Linked DNA regions of Homo sapiens: regions 1 and 3 are each linked to region 2. The links are contacts of gene promoters, found by promoter capture Hi-C in blood cells and fetal thymus (Javierre and others, 2016). All regions are on one chromosome and are shown on one strand. Each heading gives the region's core, a stretch centred on a gene start or on the middle of the fragment in contact. The rest is flanking DNA. Distances are from core to core; before and after follow the strand shown.

The links. The method cuts DNA at HindIII sites, captures the fragments that hold promoters and counts their contacts. A CHiCAGO score of 5 or more calls a contact.
Region 1: a contact is called between a fragment that was not itself captured here and the fragment with the promoter of CELF6 in region 2, in 2 of 17 cell types (monocytes and neutrophils). The highest score is 6.3, in monocytes.
Region 3: a contact is called between a fragment that was not itself captured here and the fragment with the promoter of CELF6 in region 2, in 1 of 17 cell types (monocytes). The highest score is 6.2, in monocytes.

What each region holds. Positions count from the first base shown.
Region 1 is chr15:72,506,977-72,511,954 of GRCh38, reverse strand. All of the region lies in intron 1 of ARIH1 (ariadne RBR E3 ubiquitin protein ligase 1), which reads right to left. Among named protein-coding and RNA genes, the nearest start is that of ARIH1, 35 kb to the right of the region's middle. The HindIII fragment of the contact is 4,991 bases long and covers 1-4,180 here.
Region 2 is chr15:72,317,508-72,321,805 of GRCh38, reverse strand. It overlaps CELF6 (CUGBP Elav-like family member 6), which reads left to right and starts at 1,649. Exons shown (of 13, transcript NM_052840.5): 1 at 1,649-2,193. The coding sequence starts at 1,932. RefSeq lists silencers at 1,513-1,562, 1,623-1,962. The HindIII fragment of the contact is 9,541 bases long and covers 1-4,298 here.
Region 3 is chr15:72,559,006-72,563,915 of GRCh38, reverse strand. ARIH1 (ariadne RBR E3 ubiquitin protein ligase 1) reads right to left here. Exons shown (of 14, transcript NM_005744.5): 6 at 2,367-2,433; 7 at 416-522. Among named protein-coding and RNA genes, the nearest start is that of MIR630, 26 kb to the left of the region's middle. The HindIII fragment of the contact is 4,694 bases long and covers 958-4,910 here.

The sequences.
Region 1 (4,978 bases), core at 436-2,935, 190 kb before region 2:
AAAAGCCTAATGAAGAAAAGTCACAGGATAGGATATAAATAAAGCATTTGACAAAATTCAACATCCACTACTATAAAAATCTCTCAGCAAACTAGGAAACGAAAAAGAAGTGCCTAGAAGAGGCACTTCTAGGCCAGCTGCCCAGTCACTCTCAGTCAACTCTGTACTGGACGGAGTCTTACAAATACAATATGGCAAGAAAAAGAAATAAAAGAAATTGGAAAGGAAAAAAGCTGTTTCTAATCAGATGACTATGTATGTGGCTATGCAGAAAATCCCATTAATCTACAAAAAATTCCTAGAAGAAATGAGTTTAGCGAAGTCCAAGGCCAATATAAAAAGATCAGCTGGGCCAGGCACGGTGGTTCATGCCTGTAATCCTAGCACTTTGAGAGGCCAAGGTGTGTGGATCACCTGAGGTGAGGAGTTCAAGACCAGCCTGGCCAACATGATGAAACCCCATTTCTACTAAAAATACAAAAAATTAGCAGGGCATGGTGGCAGACGCCTGTAATCTCAGCTACTCAGGAGACTGAGGCAGGACAATCACTTGAACCCGGGAAGCGGAGGTTACAAGTGAGCCAAGATGGCGCCACTGCACTCCAGCCTGGACAACAAGAGCAAAACTCCATCTCAAAAAAGAAAGAAAGAAAGAAAAGATCAGCTATATTTTTACATACTAGTAATGAATAACTGAAGATCAAAAAAATTTAAAGTGCCACTTACAATAGCACCAAAACGTGAAATACATAGGTATAAATTTAATATGTGAAGAACGTGTACACGGAAAACTGCAAAATATTGATGAAAGAAATTTTAATAAGACCTAAATAATGGAGAGAGATGCCATCTTCATGGATTGGAAAACAACATAATTAAAATGTTAATTCTTCCCAAACTGACCTATAGATTCCACTCAATGCCAATCAAACTCCAAATATTTTTTGGATAAACATCAAAGTGATTCTAAATTTTATATGGAATACCAAGGAAACTAGAGTGGCCAAATTTTGAAAAATTTTAAAACAGAACACCTGATTTCAAAACATAACTATGAAGTTACAGTACTGGCAAAAAGATATACAGATCAAAAGAATGGAATGGAGACCAGAAATAGACCCACATAAATACAGCAAAAGTGATCTTTTACAAAAGTGATAAAACAATTCAACGGGGAAAAAGTCTTTTTTTTTTTTTTTTTTTTTTTTTTTTTTTTTTGAGTCAGAGTCTTGCTCTGTTGCCCAGGCTGGAGTGCAGTGGCGTGATCTCGGCTCACTGCAAGCTCCGCCTCCCGGATTCACATCATTCTGCTGCCTCAGCCTCCCCAGTAGCTGGGAATACAGGCGCCCACCACCAAGCCCGCCTAATTTTTTTAGTAGAGATGGGCTTTCACCATGTTAGCCAGGATGGTCTCGATCTCCTGACCTCGTGATCCACCCGCCTCGGCCTCCCAAAGTGCTGGGTAGTACTGGAATAATTAAGATGTACATATTTTTAAAATGTACTTTAGCTCACATTTAATACAAAATTAATAATGGATCAGACCCAAATGTAAATCAGACTGTAAAACTTAAAGAAAATGTTTGTGACCTTGAGTTACACAAATAGTTCGTACATACATCAAAAGCACAATCCATTAGAGAAAACGGATACACTGAAATCCATCGAAAGTAAAAGATACTGTTAAGAAAATACAAGATATACCACAGACTAGGAGAAGATACCTGCAAATTACATTTCTGATGAAGAATTTGTACCTAGAATAATTTTTTAAAAATCTAAAAACCTAACAAGAAAATAAAAGCCCATTTTAAAAATTGATTTACAATTCTATTTAAATGACACAGTGGAAAAGGCAAAATTACAGGGCTCAGGCCAGAAGAGGTGGGAGATCCCTGTAGTCCCAGGTACTCAGGAGGCTGAGGCAGGAGGATCACTTGAGCTAAGGAGTTCAAAGATGTAGTGTGCTAGGATCCCATCTGTGAACAGTCACTGCACTCTAGCCTGGACAACACAGTGAGGCCCCATCTCTCTTTGGGGAAAAAAAAAAAAAAAGGTGGGGCTGGAGTGGGCGATTGGTGTCACACCTGTAATCCCAACACTTTGAGGGGCCAAGGCGGGAGGACTGCTTGAGCCCAAGAGTTTCAGACTAGCCTGGGCAACAAAGCAAGACCTCTACTAAAAATTTTTAAAAAATTAGCCAGGCATGATGACACACATGCCTGTAGTCCCAGCTACTCTAGAGACTGAGGTGAGTAGGATCCCTTGAGTCCAGTAGCACAAGGCTGTAGTGACCTATGATCGCATCACTGCATTCCAGCCTGGGCGAAAGAGTAAGACCCTGTCTTAAATGAATGAGTGAAAATAAATAGAAATAAATAAGTAAGGATAGGGTACAAATCCAGAGCTGCCAAATATTAAAGGTGGGGGAGGGTTTGACTAAACAATGGGGTAGAAAGAAATTTGAGGGGTGATGGTGAGGGGAAACTGTTCTGTAAATTAACTATGGTGGTGGTTTACACAACTCTAGGCATTTATCAAAACTCAGAGAACTGTATGCTCCAGTGTAAATTTTATTGTATGAAACTTAAAGTATTCAACTATAAACGTAATCTAGCCTGCACTGGAGCACCTGTAGTGAAGTTCTTTTAAAAAGAACAATGTGGGCCAGGTGTGGTGGCTCACACCTGTAATCCCACCACTTTGGGAGACCGAGGCAGGTGATCACTTAAGGTCAGGACTTCAAGGCCAGGCTGACCAACATGATGAAACCTTGTCTCTACTAAAAATATAAACATTAGCTGGGAGTGGTGATGCACGCCTGTAGTCCCAGCTACTTGGGTGGCTGAGGCATGAGAATCACCTGAACCCAGGAAGCGGAGGTTGCAGTGAGCTGAGATCAGGCCACTGCACCCAGCCTGGGCAACAGAGCAAGACTCAGTCTCAAAAAAAAAAAAAAAGGGCCAGGCACAGTGGCTCACACCTGTAATCCCAGCACTTTGGGAAGCTAAGGCGGGTAGATCACCTAAAGTCAGGAGTTTGAGACCAGCCTGACCAATATGGTGAAACCTCATCTCTACTAAAAATACAAAAATTAGCCGGGCATGGTGGCGTATGCCTGTAGTCCCAGCTACTCGGGAGTCTGAGACAGGAGAATTGCTTGAACCCGGGACGTGGAGGTTGCAGTGAGCCGAGACTGCACCACTACACTCCAGCCTGGGTGATAGAGAGAGACTCCGTCTCAAAAAAAAAAAAAAAAGAAAGAAAGAACAATGAGAGTAAAAGGGAATGCTGAAAAGGAGAACATAGATTTGAAATTATTTAGTGCCGGGCACAATGCTAGATACTTTATATACATTATTTCATTTAATACTCACATCAATATTTTATGCAAGTTAGATATGATTTACATTTTACAGATGAGGTTACAGAGGTTAAGTGTCTTGGTCCAGGATAAAATAGGCTAGTAGGATTTGAATACATGGAGAAATTATTTTTTAATTTATGATTATAGCACCACTCCCTACAAGGACTTGTCAAAGGAGAGAAATTCACTTCGGTGTGCCACCAAAACTGATAGTTCAGTGAAAAGCCAATTCAAGCTCTTGGCTGAAATAAAGAGCTCTTCATCCTTTTTAAAGGATATAAACAAACCAAACAAAAACAGTTTGAGTAAAATCACTATAATCAGAAAACTAGTACTAATACTAGCAGCAGTACATTTAACTTTTAGGACAATAGAACAACCTAAAACCTTACATCTTGTCTAGTTATAACTCTAAATCAGTACCACCCACCCCTGTCCATTCTGGCTACATATAAGAATCTCCTGAGGAACTTAAAAAATACCATTAATTGGGCTTTGCCCCCAGCAATTCTGATTCAACTGTCAAGGGTAGAATATGAATATATATATTTTCATCCAACATTTTTATCTGAAGGTCCCCAGATGATCCTAACATGCAGACAGAACTGGGAACTACTGCTCTAAACAATTTCCCACTACACAGGCTCCGAAAAAGTACATCTGTAGAACTCCCATGAATGTGGCAGTATAGTATTTTAGTAATCTAAAGAAAATAACATTCCAGGCTCAGAGCAGCTGTATTTACTTTAAAGTTTTGCATTTTGAAAAAGTTGATTAGTAAGTCTGATTATGTCAACTGTCCTAGCTGAAGCTTTAACATCAATTGCACCATCATCCCCTATCCTTTGATCAAGTAGTTCTCAATTTTAGTAGCACATAAGCTCTTAATTGACTGTTATTTATTTATTTATTTTTATTTAAAGACAGGATCTTGCTATGTTGCCCAGGCTGGTCTCAAATTCCTGGGCTCATGCAATCCTCCAGCTTCAGCCTCCCAAAACACAGGGATTATAGGAATGAGCCACTGTGCACAGCCATCTAGGAAGCTTTTAAACAAGCCACAAACCCCAGGCCAAATATATCAGAATATGGGGGGAGTGAGGAAGAGGACTGAGGGGGACACCTGGGCATTACCATTTTCAAAAACTCCCAAGAGATTCCAATAAGCAGTCACAGTGGAGAATCATAATCTGGATGCACACATGTGTGCAGACAGGCCCATATTCAAGAGTATGACAAACTCTCCAGGTAGAATCACAACCAAAGCCAGGCATGGTGGCTCACGCCTGTAATCCCAGCACTTTGGGAGGCCAAGGCAGGCGGATCACTTGAGGTCAGAGTTCGAGACCAGCCTGGCCAACATGGTGAAACCCCGTCTCTACCAAAAATATACAAATATTAGCCGGGCACGGTGGTGTGCGCCTATAGTCCTAGCTACTTGGGAGGCTGAGGCAAGAGAAACACTTGAACCCAGGAGGCAGAGGTTGCGGTGAGCTGAGATCATGCCACTGCACTCCAGCCTGGGCGACAGGGCACGACTGCGTTTCAAAAAATAAATAAATAAATACATACATACATACATACATACATACATACATACATACATAAAAA
Region 2 (4,298 bases), core at 400-2,899:
GGCCTCCCAAAGTGCTGGGATTACAGGTGTGAGTCACCATGCTCAGCCAGAAAAATAAATCATTTAAAAATCATGATTTGCTTCTGAATTGAATATTGTTTTAAGAACTTTTTGATGATTCCAGTTGCTACTGCTGGTCTCCAGCAGTTTCTTAGAATAGTCAATGGACACAAGTTATGTTAAAATCTCTATTAGGCCAGGTGCAGTGGCACACTCCTGTAATCCCAGCACTCTGGGGCACCGAGGTGGGTGGATCACTTGAGCTCAGGAGTGTTCTAGACAAGCCTGGGCAGAATGGTGAAACCACCATCTCTACAAAAAAAAAAAAAGAAAAAAAATTATCCAGGCATGGTAGCGTGCACCTGTCATCCCAGCTACTTGGGAGGCTTAGGTGGGAGGATCGCTTGAACCCAGGAGGTTGAGGCTGCAGTGATCTTAGATCGCACCACTGCACTACAGCCTGGGTGACAGAATGATAACCTATCAAAAAAAAAAAAAGGAAATCTCTATTAAAATAATTAGCAATTTTACTGAAAGAGGCATGAAAAATATATTATGGAATAAATATATAATTTATGAAGTATGTGTCTTTGTCCAAACATTGTATTACTACTTTGTGCAAACATCACTGATCCATCAAGAGAATACCTAGACATGTGCAGGAGTAATAAAATTCCATCAGCTCTGATATTTTGCCAACTTTCAGTCATATAGAAAGCGTAGCTGTACATATGTCTTTCATTTTCGTAATTCTGAACCTGTATTTGTGAAAATAAGAGGGGAACATATTTAACAAATTGTAATTTGATTTGTATCTTTTAAATGTTTAGATGCACAGTATGTCGATTTCCATTTCTTATTTTGCGCTGGGCCCAACAAATGTTGGGGTGGGCCTGGCCCTAACATCCTCGACCCTCAGAACCTCAGCTTCCTTTTCCGGAAAAAGAGAACACTCCTGAGTTCACAGAACTGGGATGAACTGGGCACCTGGTGCATAATGGGTTCTGAGTAAATACGGCTAAGTTCCCTCACTCTCCTAAGGAGGAATCCGTGTTCAAGGAGTGTTTAAGGGGTTTTTATTTTATTCTTCCTTTCTTTTTAAGGCTGCAAGGGAGACGAATGTGTCTGAGGCTCAGGGGTAAGAAAGTGGTTAAAGACACCGAAGACAGAGATGTGTGATGGGGCGGGGTGGGATTGGCTCCGAGGGACTGGCTCGATAGTGGGAATAGAGAAGAGGAATCCCCATCCACCCCCGCAGGAAACGCACCAGCGTTTGGAGGTGTGTGTGCCTGCGTGTGCCTGCGTTTGCCTGTGTGTGCCTGTGTGTGCGGTGGGGATTAGCCCCGACTCCGGCAGACACCATCACGCATGACGAAGCTGCTTCCCCTCACGCGGCCCAAGGCGCACACGCGCGATCCACGGCCACGCCCGCACACACTCGACACACACAGGGCATTCGAGGGTCCGGTTGCCATGGCGAGCAGGAGCGCGTGAGCCCAGCCGCCCCCCCCGCCCCCGGCGAGCCCAGTCAACTCCCACTCTGATTGGCGGCTGCTTCCTCATTATGCAAATCATTTGCGTAGACTCGGCGGCCAGCTGCCTGACGTCACCAAGCACGGGGGCTGGGGCTCGGGGCTCGGCTCTGGGAGAGCTCGGGCGGGAGCCCAGAGAGAGCCGCACGGGGACCTCAAGCCAGACCCCAGCGTTCAGCCGCCACCTCGGCCCGGGCCCGCCCCGCCCCGGCCCCGCCCCTTTCCTGCCCGCCCCACCCCCTCTACGCCCCTCCACCCGGACCCCGCCCCCTGGGCAGCCCCCCGCCCTCTCCGCCCGGGCTCCGCCCCCTCCCCCTGGCCCTCGCCACCGGTCCAGGGAGGGGACGGCGGGACAGGCGGGACCAGTGGGACCGGCGGGAGGGCTGACAGGGCGGGGACATGGCCGCGGCGCCGGGAGGGTCAGCGCAGCCCGCTGGCCCCGGCCCGCGCCTGGGTTTCAGCACCGCGGACAGCGGCGTCGGCATGAGCGGGCTAAACCCCGGTCCCGCCGTACCCATGAAGGACCACGACGCCATCAAGCTCTTCGTGGGGCAGATCCCGCGGGGCTTGGACGAGCAGGACCTCAAGCCGCTGTTCGAGGAGTTCGGCCGCATCTACGAGCTGACGGTGCTGAAGGACCGGCTCACCGGCCTCCACAAAGGTGCGCGGGGTCAGCCCAGCCCAGCCCAGCCCCAATCCGATTAGAGTGTGGCCCGACCCCAGCCCAGCCCCAGCCCTAGCCCTGCCGAGAGCCAGTCCAACACCAGTCCAATATCAGCCCCACCTCAGCCCAGCCCCCTTCCCAGATCACAGAATTTTCTCTCTGACATCCTCCCTCTGATTATCACTGTGGTCCCCTAACATGTTCTCCACTCTAACCTCCAAATTCCTGGCCTCCACCTCTCACATCCCAGCAGTCCCTGCCTTTCAATTGGACCTTTCCACCACCTCTCCCATCAGACCTAAAATTCTGGAATTTGAAAACTTATTCCACCTTCTAGATCTCGAATACCCTCAATTTCCCAAACCCTGAGCCCAAACACTCCTGAATCCTCCATCTGGTGGCACCTCACTCAGGCCTAACCACCCACATGCATATCTTGGACTTGCACCCCTCCTCTGGCCTCCTAGTCCGGCCATCCCCCTCAAGAGCCTTCTTTTGACTCTCAGACTGCCAACCTAAAACACCGCAGACCCAAACCCTCCCCTTCTTCAGAACCCAGACCTGTCTAACACAAAATCCAATTCAATTCCCAGGAGGCTCTCAGTTCCAGACACCCCCTCATGTTCAACAACAGCCCCAATCTCTCCTGCCCTTCGCCAGAATCCCAATGCACTCTACCTCTTTTGATTTCAGTTCAGAACCCTGACCTCAGCTGGGAACTCCTGCCACCCTGTGTCCCTTTCTTCTTGGATTTCTCTCAGCTAAATCCACACTTCTTTCCTTCTCTAATCCCCTCACTCCTGTGCCTCTTCTTTGCTCCTCCCCAGTCCTCTTTATGGCCTCTTTCTTTCCCTCCCCTCACAGGCTGGTCCCAGTCCAGGCCCATTCTCAGGGTGAGTCAGGCTGAAGAGACAGAAGGAGATCTTCTCCCTGCCCTTTCTAGAGAGATACACGGTCCTGTTCGGCCACACCCCTTTCTTCCTGTAGAGAGAGGGAGGAGGCTTGTTTACATGCAGAAAAGTCTGTCCAGGCAGGGCTGGAGTAAGAGAGCCAGAGTCACATGTCATACATGGGCAGGAGAAGGGGAGATGATTTGAGAAGGAACACTCTTATCTCCTCCCCCACCACCACCACCATGCTGTGCTTTCAAGTTTTTGCTGGGAAAGAGTCACCAACTATCCTCCATGATCTTCCTAAGAGAGGAGTGGTGGGCCTTGGGTAACAGCTAAAGGTACATTCCTAAGGACTGAGAGCTGGAATCAGACTGCCACCTCTTCAACTTGGAGGCCTCGTAGGGTTCCTTGGCACACTAATGTAGGCACTTCGAGAAAATGCCAATAGAAGAGCTAGGACCATCTGGCTAGGAGTACAGCTTCCACCCTTTGGGCTGGGATTGTGTTAATGGGTGTATGAAAGGACAATACCTCACCATCTAGAGTCCTTCTAATGCACTCCCACTACCTGCCTGTCTGTCCATCCCTCTGTAGTAACTCATTTTCTTATTTTTAGACATTGATTTCAGGATGTACATACAAAGCTAATCTTTGTAGGCCATCCGTACAATAAGGGAAGTGTATAGAATACCCTTAAATCTCACTCTTCTCACTATCAGTCTCTGAACTGTTCCCTCATCCTCTCTCTTTTCATTTAGCTCTAATTCTGCCTGTTATTTTCATTCATCTGTCTCTCAAACCATGCTTCTCTGTCTTTTCTTCCCTTCATTCTTCCACCCTCTATCCCGGCTAGTCCACATGGGGCTTCTTTAGGCAGCAACTGGGCCCCTGAGCCTTTCAGACAGGCAACCTGCCCGGTTTGGACGTCAGGTGATATGGGTTGGTAGCAAAACACAGAGCAGGGATGTAAGTGGAATCAGGTGTTTGGTGATTTATTTCCAAACTAAATCACAACTCTCCAAGGCAAGTGTTGCCTTCCAAGATGATTGTAGAGGGTCTCCAAGTCAACATCTTCCTCATCCTCTCCCCAGAAACAGTGACTCATTTTCCTTTTGATGTCTGGGTACCGAGGCAGGCAGCCACAGTGCTTTGAAAACAACCCCAGCTTGGGAGTTAAGACATTCCAAATCCTGCCCTGCCACTGACCCA
Region 3 (4,910 bases), core at 2,055-4,554, 240 kb before region 2:
AGCCACAGGAAAACTCTTAGTTAAAAAGGAGACCATCAGCAGAATTTACCTGCACATTTCCTTTGCATAAGTAAGGTTAAAATTTGGCAGAGTAAAGAAAAACGTATAGTCCCAGATCTACAAGTTTGCTCCCATTAAGTTACAGTGGAGCATACAGGAAGATATGATTAGAGTTGTATATTTTCTCCATAAAAAAAAATTCAAAAAAGTTAGAACATCAAGGAAAGAGGAAAAATTTTTTTAAGATGTGACCTTTTCATTCAATTCTGAAAGAGATATATACTATTTTAAACCAGTATCAAACATCTCCCTGCCTAAGGTAAACACTTTTTTTCTGCTATTTTACTACCAAGAATAAACAGGAGAAATGGAAACGCTTTGTGCACTATTTCAATTTAGGAAATCACTTGCTTACCAAAATTGGCGCCCACATTTGCAGCGAACAGGTTTAGCATCAGGATATTGGACTTTAACAACATGGTGGCAATCTGGGGCAGGACACCACTTTAACAGTCGATTGCACTGAAATACAAGTTAGAAAATAAAAAATGACAGCTGGCTGGGCACAGTGGCTCACACCTATAATCCCAGAACTTAGGGAGGCCAAGGCGGGAGGACTGTTTGAGGTCAAGCACTCCAGACCAGCCCGGGCAACATAGCAAGACCTTGTCTCTACCTTAAAAAAAAGAAAAAAGAATTTAGCCAGGCATGGTGGTATGTGCCTGTAGTCCCGACTACACAGGAGGCTGAGGCAAGAGGATCACTTGAGCCCAGGAAGTAGAGGCTGCAGAGAGCTGTGATCATCTGCTGCACTCCAGCCTGGGTGTTAGAATGAGGCCCTGCCTCAAAAAAAGACAGCAAATTAAATTAGGTCATGATGCAAGATTTCCTAGTACATCAAGCTATTTATATTGCTTCTCTGGTACAAGGGGCAAATGGGGGATAATTACACAAGCTTATGAAAACTTGCTGTGGTCTTCTATAGCAACACTTCAGATGTGCCTTTTTTTTTTTTTTTTAAAGATGACTGATCCCTGAAGACCTGGTTTTATAAAATACATGAATCACCTCTTGTTCTATCTTCAAAATCCCACTGAATAACTTTAATTAAATATCATGTATGTGACCATTAAAAACCACTAATTTATTTACAGTTCTATTTCAGAACAATTTTCAAAAGACACAAGAAAATCAGATATACTCTTTATCAAGGAAGGTGTTTAGAAGCTACAGAATAGTTCAAGATAGGCTAAAGGATATACATACAACTTCTCCCATAAAAAGCTCTTGTAAGAAGGAAAAAAAAAAACAAACAAAAAACCCAGTTCCTAAACCACAGGCAAAGATTGCATTTTAGTTCCTCAAAAGGAAATATAACTTTTATAGTATTATGAAAAAAAAACACTCTGCACCAGAATTCAGAAGTCCATTGACCATTTCAAATAATACACTATTTCTAAAATAGGCTGTTTCCAGGTTTAATCTCTAACAGAAATAATTACTTTCTAGAATTAAAAGACCAAGTTACTGATGTTGTCATACAGGGGCTGAAAAACTCCTCTGTAACAAGCCAAGAGGGTAAAGAATTTTGGTTTTGCAGGCCAGAACAGTCTCTGTAGCAACTACTCAACTCTGCCACTGTAGCACAAAAGGAGTCATAGAACAAATGGGCAAAGGCATGGTCCAATAAAGGATAGCATTCTTTATTAACAAGATTTACTGGTAATGAAACCTAAAACGAGCAGAGAAATAGCAGGGTTAGAATCTCAAACATGATTAAACATGACACGATTAGTAATCTACTACAATTCTCAGCTAGGGATAAAGAAAAGTAAAGGAAGAATACAGTAAAAATAATTTTATTATCCAAGGTCAAGATCTATGGAGAGATGTACTTACTGGTTTCTCATACTCTTTTATTTTATTTTATTTTATTTTTTATTAAGAGGGAGTCTCGCTCTGTCACCCAGGCTGGAGTGCAGTGGCGCCATCTCGGCTCACTGCAACCTCTGCCTCCAGGGTTCAAGCGATTCTCCTGCCTCAGCCTCCCGAGTAGCTCGGATTACAGGCTTGTGCCACTGTGCCCAGCTAATTTTTGTATTTTTAGAAGAGACAGGGTTTCGCCATGTTGGTCTTGAACTCCTGATCTCAGGTGATCCACCCGCCTCGGCCTCCCTTAGTGCTGGGATTACAGGCATGAGCCACCACACCTGGCCTGTCATACTCTTTTGAGAATAAAGGTATTTTGGCATGCTTCATAAATATGTTAAAGATGTTTTTTACTGTCAATAAATTATAATTTTTAAAATAGTATTTCTATTAATAAACAGAATTCCTTCTTACAAGAAGGAAAACAAATCACTTACCTCTACAAAGCTATTTGTTATTAAATGCTGATACTTTAATTTAACTTTTGAATCTGTGATCAGGCGCCTGAAACCAAGAATAAAAATAGATTAGAAAGTTTCCAGTCAAGAGTATTTTCCACATTTATAAAACATAGTTTCAAAAGCTGTTTATGCTACGGCTACATGTTTATGCCCTAAGCTGTAAATACTGAAATGCACATAGGCTATCAACAAATATAACTGTACTGATCAGAACAATAATTTCAAAGTTTGTATAGTTTTATTTTCATAGACTTTTTTTCCATGGTTCTTATTTTTTAAATAGTCTACTTTTACCCAGTTTTTATTACAGCCTAATGACTTACCAACTAGTGCCAAGTATAAGCGCATTTCAGGGTCTTTTGACTCTGATATCATATCATGCCTTAAGACAGCAATTCTCAGCCACCTTCCTTCAGACACCCCACCCAAATCAGTATGCGAAATGAGACAGATATTGTTGCCAGAAATGTTAAGAAATGGATCCAGGTTTTGTGATACCTAAAGCTGATACAATTTTAAGAGCCTTCTTCTTCTGAGAGCTCTTAGAAATTAACCAGAAATGCTCACTGACTGCATCCTGGCCTCTTCTGAACACTATAACTCACAAGAATTTCCAGAATTCACAGGATCCCACGTAGTGAGGAATCCTGAAGTTTAAGTTTCATTAGTTCTATGGTAAATACTCCTCTGAGTGTATTCCCACTGAGAAAGACATGAAGAACATGCATGTAGTTCAACCCCATTAAAATCTTTTAAATGAACCAATCTGGCCTCATTTGACTCTTGAGCTTCATAGGCCTCTCTCCTTCCACAAGATCCCACCCTGTCCTGTGGCACTTTCAGTGCACTCCTATCACATTCGTATTCTTGTATTTCCTCAAAACAGTAAGTACCACCCTTCCTCAGAGGCTGTGCATAAGGCTGCCTCCCTTGGAAAGACAAGAATATTGTAATGGAGCTCTAAGGTGGGACAGCCTAGGTTTGAATGCCAGCCTCACAACTCACTAGCTATGAATTGAAGGTAAATTCTTTGAACTCTCCATTTCTCAGTTACTAATCTGTAAAATAGATATCAGAAACATGGTTGTGAGACTAGAATAGTGCCTGGCAGATAGTAAGCACTCAATAAATATTAGACGCTATTACTGTATTACTTCACTCAGTTACAATAAAGTATTACTCAAGGAAGCCTTTCCTGAGTTTCCACACTCGTTTGGATATAGATACCCTCTCAGTTCTCATGGCACCTTAAACATCTACTTTATAGAAATTATCATAATTTTAATTAGACAGTTATCTGTATAATCATTTGTTTAATATCTGTCTTTCTCCTCCCAACCCCATGAAAGGATCCCCAGGTGTCCAGTACGCCTGTAGAAAGTGTTCAATTAATATTTTTTAAATGAGTAAATCTCCATATTTCACAGAAGTGGAACCTGCGGTCTAAAAATAATTTGTGTATTTGATGGTTCCTCAAAAAGTTAAACATAGCATTACCACAAGACCCAGGAATTCTCCTTTGAAATATATATACTTAAGAGAATTAAAAACAGATGTTCAATGAAAAACTTGTACACAAATGTTCATATGTTCACATAAGACATTTCCGTAAAAAATGGAAATGTCCATATAATGGAACCATTATTCAGCAATGAAAAGGAGTAAAGTGATGATTCATGATACAACATGGATGAATCTTGAAAACATTAAAGAAGCCAATCACAAAAGGCAACATATTACATGATTCCCTTTATATGAAATGTCTAGAATAGGCTAATCCACAAAGACAGAAAGCAGATGAGTGGTTGCTAGGGTCTAGGGGGAGAAAGGAATAGCGAATGACTGCTTAACGGATATAAGGTGATTAAAATAGTCTGCAATTAGGTGATGTTTGTAGAATAATATTATGTATATACTAAAAGCCACTGGATAATATACTTAAAAATACAGTTGCTGGCCATGTGCGGTTGCTCACGCCCGTAATCTTAGCACTTTGGGAGGCAGAGGTGGGTGATCACTTGGGGTCAGGAGTTCAAAACCAGCCTGGCCAACATGGTGAAACCTCGTCTCTACTAAAAATACAAAAAAATTAGCCGAGCATGGTGGCAGGCACCTGTAATCCCAGCTACTCAGGAGGCTGAGGCAGGAGAATCACTTGAACCTAGGAGGTAGAGGTTGCAGTGAGCCGAGATCATGCCACTACTGCACTCCACTCTGGGCAACAGAGAGAGATTCCATCTTAAAAAAACAAAAAACAAAAAAAACCCCATTGCTTCTTAAACAACACAGGTTTGAACTGCATGGGTCCACTTATTTATGAATATTTTTCAACCAAACAGGGATCAAAAATAGTTATTTGTGGGATGTGAAACCTGCATATATGGACGGTCAAATTTTTGTATACATGGGTTCTGCTGGGCTGACATGAGCATGCGCAGATTTTGGTATATTCAGGGTGGAGGACGTGGGTCCTAGAACCAATCCCCAGTATACTAAGGATAACTGTAATTAAAATGAGTT